Regions from separate parts of the Homo sapiens genome. Here region 1 is linked to region 2. Evidence: promoter capture Hi-C in human tissues and cell types (Jung and others, 2019). All regions are on one chromosome and are shown on one strand. The core of a region is centred on a gene start or on the middle of the fragment in contact, and the rest is flanking DNA. Distances in the headings are between cores, read along the strand shown. Region 1 overlaps RNF19B (ring finger protein 19B). Region 2 holds the start of FNDC5 (fibronectin type III domain containing 5).

The links. The method cuts DNA at HindIII sites, captures the fragments that hold promoters and counts their contacts. A contact is called where the count stands out against the background at its distance.
Region 1: a fragment that was not itself captured here is called in contact with the fragment with the promoter of FNDC5 in region 2 in 2 of the 25 tissues and cell types used here (heart left ventricle and mesenchymal stem cells).

Annotation. Positions count from the first base shown.
Region 1 is chr1:32,939,938-32,942,637 of GRCh38, forward strand. It overlaps RNF19B (ring finger protein 19B), which reads right to left. Exons shown (of 9, transcript NM_001300826.2): 7 at 2,315-2,522. Among named protein-coding and RNA genes, the nearest start is that of RNF19B, 24 kb to the right of the region's middle. The HindIII fragment of the contact is 3,693 bases long and covers 1-2,700 here.
Region 2 is chr1:32,869,634-32,872,427 of GRCh38, forward strand. FNDC5 (fibronectin type III domain containing 5) reads right to left here and starts at 1,279. Exons shown (of 6, transcript NM_001441683.1): 1 at 1,020-1,279. The coding sequence starts at 1,257. The HindIII fragment of the contact is 14,778 bases long and covers 1-2,794 here.

The DNA of each region.
Region 1 (2,700 bases), core at 38-2,537, 70 kb after region 2:
GGGCGGGATCCCCTGATAAGAGACAACCAGAGTCATGAGATGCACAGACGGGTCAGTAGCAGCCTGCAGCTGCACATTCAAGCAGCTTCCATCCTACTGCCTGAGCCTTTGCTTTGCTGCTCCAGCTTCAGGTGCCCTTCAAAAATGTGCCAAGGCCCAGGGAAATGAGGGAATGCAATGGAAAGTGCACAGTGTCAGAGACCTGGCTTCTAGTTTCAGGTCTGCCACAGAATCACTCTGAGTTGGAAGAGTCTTTCAGAAAGGGCTCCTACTTAGGTGGTTGTCAGATGCTGGTTCATGCAACGGCTGTGCTAGAATTACCTGGGGAGCTTTTGCAAAACACGGATCACCCCCTAGGTGCCACTCCAGGAAATTCTAAGCTACTCATTCTGGGATGGGTCCCTGAAGTCTATTTTTAAGAGGCTCCCAAGTGATTGACAGGCACTCAGGTGGGAGATCCAGTCCACCTGCCATCTGTTGCTTGAATCCTTCTTATAGCCAAATAGCCATCTGGTCTCATTGTAAACATTTCCAGGGATAGGCAGCTCAGTATCTACTAAAGTAGCCTTTTTCCTCTTTGGGCTTTCATGTTGCTTTTCCCTATATTCTCTATACTGAACCAAAATTAGTTTCCCTTTAGCTTCTGCCAAGTCATCTTAATCTACCTTTTGGTATGAGGCATAGAAGTCTAATCCTTTTCACAGTTGAAGGTCCTTTGGATAGCTGAAGGCAACCATCTCCTCTACCTTCCTATCCTGCTTTGTTCTACCTTTACCCCTCCCTAGGCCTTTCTTCTCCGTTGCATTCAACTGCTTCTCAGGCAACATGTTATGCTCCTCTGAAAATATACACTCTGGTCTGCCTAACTAGTGAAATGACCAAGCAAGTCACAATCTTTTTAGTTACAAAGCTTTACATATTTTCAACACAAGTACATAGAATTGATTTTCCTTATCTAGCAAATGGAAATAGAAAGGTAATAAGGATTGCAGTATCACTAAACCAGCTGGGGGCAATGGTTCATGCCTATAATCCTAGCACGTTGGGAGCCAAGTTGGGAGGATGGCTTCAGGCCAGGAGTTTAAGACCAGCCTGGGTAACCGAGCAAGACCCCATCTCTACAAAAAATTTAAAATGTTAGCTGGGTGTGGTGTGTGCACTTGTAGTCCTAGCTACTCAGGAGGCTGAGGTGGTAGGATTGCCTGAGTCCAGGAAGTTGAGGCTGCAGTGAGCCATGATTGTGCCACTGCATTCCAGCCTGGATGACACAGTGAGAAAAAAAACAAAAAAAAATCCCCAAAGCCCACTATCAATAAACCATGATGGGCTGGGTGTGGTGGTTCATGCTTGTAATCCCAGCACTTTGGGAGGCTGAGGCGGGTGGATCACAAGGTCAGGAGCTTGAGACCAGCCTGGCCAACATGAAACCCTGTCTCTACTGAAAATACAAAAATTAGCCAGGCATGGTGGTGCACGCCTGTAGTCCCAGCCTCTTGGGAGGCTGAGGCAGGACAATCACTAGAACCCAGGAGGTGGAGGCTGCAGCGAGCCAAGATTGCACCATTGCACTCCAGCCTGGGCGACAGAGCAAGACTCCGTCTCAAAAAAATAAAATAAAATAAATAAGCCATGATACAGCATAAATGCTACTGAAAGCCAATGACAAGCCTAACGGAGAGCATTTTACGAATTCTATAAAAATGCCTACTCTCCCTTCCTGAAGCAGGCAGCCTCAGGCAGTCAAGGGGGAATCTCAAGTCAGGATTATTCTTTATATAGAGGCAGCTATGGTGCAATGGAAAGAACAATGAACTTTGCATAACTGACGTAACCTTTTTTTCTAAGCTTGTTTCCTATTTGTAAAAGTAAAAAAAAAAAGGCCTGTCGCAGTGACTCATGCCTGTAATCCCAACGGTTTGGGAGGCCAAGGCGGGCGGATCACGAGGTCAGGAGATTGAGACCATCCTAGCTAACATGGTGAAACTCCATCTCTACTAAAAATACAAAAAATTAGCTGGGCGTGGTGGCGGGTGCCTGTAATCCCAGCTACTCAGTAGGCTGAGGCAGGAGAATCGCTTGAACCCAGGAGGCGGAGCTTGCAGTGAGCCGAGATCACGCCATGGCACTCCAGCCTGAGCCACAGAGTGAGACTCTGTCTTTAAAAATAAAAAAGTAAAAACAAAACAAAACAAAACCATTGACAATTAAATCAAAATAAGATGATACGTGGCACAAGCCTGGCACAGAGAAATGGCTCAATGTGTTACTTCTTATAATTCTAACCATTTCTGTCAGAAATTATCTATTTGTTTACCTGCTATATTTTCCCTTGCCACTGGAGAGAATGCCGCCACTCAGCGTGCCCCCTGAGAGGGCTGCAAAGCTGGCCGTTTCGCTGTAAGGACCTTGCATAACACTAAGTCCATCTGTAGGGCTTCCACTAGTGCTCAATACACTAGTCAGGCCTTCAATGCTGCTTTCCCCAATGCTGGGATTCTTGAGGGCTCTCCAGGCATCTGCCACTGGGGATAGAACCAAACATCCAATTCAAGACAGCAGAGCATCAAAACAGTCAGTAGGCATTTTCCTGCAATGACTTTTCAGAGAACTAATGTATTTACTTAATGAACAGGTACTGTGTGCAGTCGCCACATATCAGGTGTTTTAACATATGTTCATATTTAATCCTCCAAATAACTA
Region 2 (2,794 bases), core at 29-2,528:
TCACTCAGAGCAGGGCCCCTCCATGGCGAGTGGAGAGGAGAGAACAGGTAGGGGAAGAGGATGAATGAGGAATCACTCCAGAAGAGACAGGAGGGAAGTGGGGGTGAGAGTGATAGGGATAGTGGGGGTCAGTGAGGAAAACCGTCCAGGAGAGGGGCAGTGCAGTCACATAAGGCTCAGTATCTTCCAAGGGGCAGGTGCAGCACGGGGCAGAGCTGCGCCTGAGCAGCACCCCTCACCCCACAGAGAGTGAACTTGAGACCCAGGGGGCTGGGCCTGGGACCTGAGGGAGACAGAGCCAGACATGGAGGGGGAGGTGGAGAGACAGGACACAGACAGGTGGTGGCAGACACAGAACCAGAGGACAGAGAAGTGGGGCATCTGAGAAAGACAGCTGCGAGAGAGCGCTCCCCGAGCCACGGAGGGAGAGATGAGCCGGGCAGCGGCAGCCAGGAGGGACAAAGACAGAGTGGCAGGAGAGGCTGGGCAAGGACGGGCCGGCCCCATGGGGCAGGCCAGACACTGTACCAGATCAGGGGTGCCGGGGCCCACCCCACGCCCTGCGCCCTCAGGTGCCAGCCCCCATCCCCTTCACACGTGCTCCTGCACAGCGGGACCCCATCTGCCCCTGCAGAGTTGGCTTGCAGGGCTTTGAGAGGTCCTGGGGACACAGAGAGAGGCCCAGGTGGGGGAACTGGTGTCCTCAGCTGCTCCCTGGGTCAAAGAAGGGAGCTAGGGAAGCTGAGGCAAAGACCTGGGGTTAGGGGAATGGGATTAGGGGACTGGGGACCACAAGACCCTAGGAAACCCAGGGCTGAGGTGACAGGGGAGATTTGGAAACTGAAGGACAGGTCTGGGGGTCAAGGAGGTAGGAAGACGCTGGGGGCTGGGTTAGGGGAGCAGTGTTTGGGCCGAGACAGGAGTCCCTAGGGGGCAGAGAAAGGACCAGGGGACTCCCAGGTAGCTGGGCTCGAGAGGAGCCTGCCCCGGCGCCGGCCCCCCGCCCCGGGCCCCCTTACCCGCCTGCACCAGCGCGAAGCAGACGCAGCCCAGCCACAGGCGGAGCGCGGCGCGGGCGCGGGGCGGCCAGGCGCTCGGCGACCCGGGGTGTATGGTGGCTCCTCCGGCCGGCAGGCCCGGGGCGGCGCAGGGGGACGCGGCTCCGGCGCCCGGCGGCCGCTCGCGCTCGCGCTCCGGCCCCCGGCCCGGCCGGCCCGGCCGCTCCGGCCGCCCTGCGCCGCCCCGAGCCGCCTGCATGTCGGCTCCGCGGACAGCGACTCCCGCGCGGCGGCGGTGGCGGCGGCCGCGTCCACGTCGGGCGCCCGGGGGGCGGGGCGCCCCCGCTGCGGGGAGAGGTGCGGGGGCGGGGTGAGGACCGGAGGGCGCCCCCACTCCCGCCCCCGCTGCCTATTAGGTCCTCTGCCGGGGAGGAAGGGGCTTCGCGGACCCACGGCTCCCGCCCTCTCACCGAGCGGGAGCCCAGCGGGGTTCTCCGCGCCCCCGCCGCGGTCACTCTCTCTCCCGTGCACAGCCCTGACTTGGCTGCCGCTTTCTGCCCTTTCCCAGGGTAGAGAGAGGACAAGTGCCACCGAGATGCCCGTTTGTGCCCCCACCCCTAAGCGCGCCTCCCTTCCCTGGGCCTAGGGATCCCCTCATTCCACGGTAGACCCGAGGCCTTGCGGCTGGGGCAGACGGGAGCAGAGGGGAGAGATCACAGTAAGGCTGGGGTGAGCAGAGAGTGCTAAGTGGACACTAGGGCTCCGTGTTTCCAGTGGGGTTGGGAAGAGGCTGCTCTGTCTCACTGGAGAGTCCAGCTCTGTGACCCCAGGCCAGTCCTTTTCCTTCATTTTCATCCCCATAGTGAGGGCAGTAATGAGCGTCTACCAGGGGCCAGATACTATGCTGAGCTTTCTTTGCATTATGTGGCTTAATTCTCAGGGCAACCCTGTAAAGTCATACTCTGCACACTTTGCACAGGAGGAGCCTGCAGCTTGGACAGGCTACTTGACTTGTCCAGGGACCCGCAGCAGAGCCAGGATTTGAACACAGGCTGATCTGACTCCCAAAGCTGTGCTTAACTGAACTGTCTCCCCACCCAGAGTGACTTCACCCATCCGGAGATTCGTGAGACTCTAGAATTGGCCGGGGCCAGCTCCTCCCCAGCCAGAAAACAGTCTGCAGCAATCTCTAAGAGCATCTCTGAGAAGGGGAGTGGCTCCAGCCCCCTTCCCTCATCTCAGCCAGAGAAACAAGGTGGAGGAGAGAGGCATGGACCAGGGCTCAGGGCCTTTTGTCTCAGCAAGAACCCCTGAGCCCCCTCCCACGACTATCCGAAATTCCACTACTAGCGGGGCATTCCTTTGGGTCTTAAAGGTTTTCCAGAAGCCCTGGAAGGGCTAATTTTCTTTGGAAAGGAGACGTCTTGCAAAGTTCTGCCACAGAAACGTCTTCAGGGTCTTCCTCTCCATCCCCCTGGTTTTACATTAAGGAAGTGAGGTCTACCGATGGGAAGAGCTTGGTGCAGATTCACACAGTGGGTCAAGAGGAGCGATAGACAACCCTCCTCTCCTTATGCCCACCCAGGACTCCTTCGCTGGCCCTGTGTTCCTCCTTGGTCACCTTGGAAGGGGTGAGATGGAAGCGAGCTTAGGGGCTCTTGTTGAGCAGCAGAATTTTCCTGCCCATCCCCTCAGTGCCCCCAGACCTGCCCCACTCGGCAGGGTGACACTGCCCAGCCCTATCATTTCCCCCGCCACATACCTTGTCCTGGGAGAGCCTCAGCTGGGACCTCGAC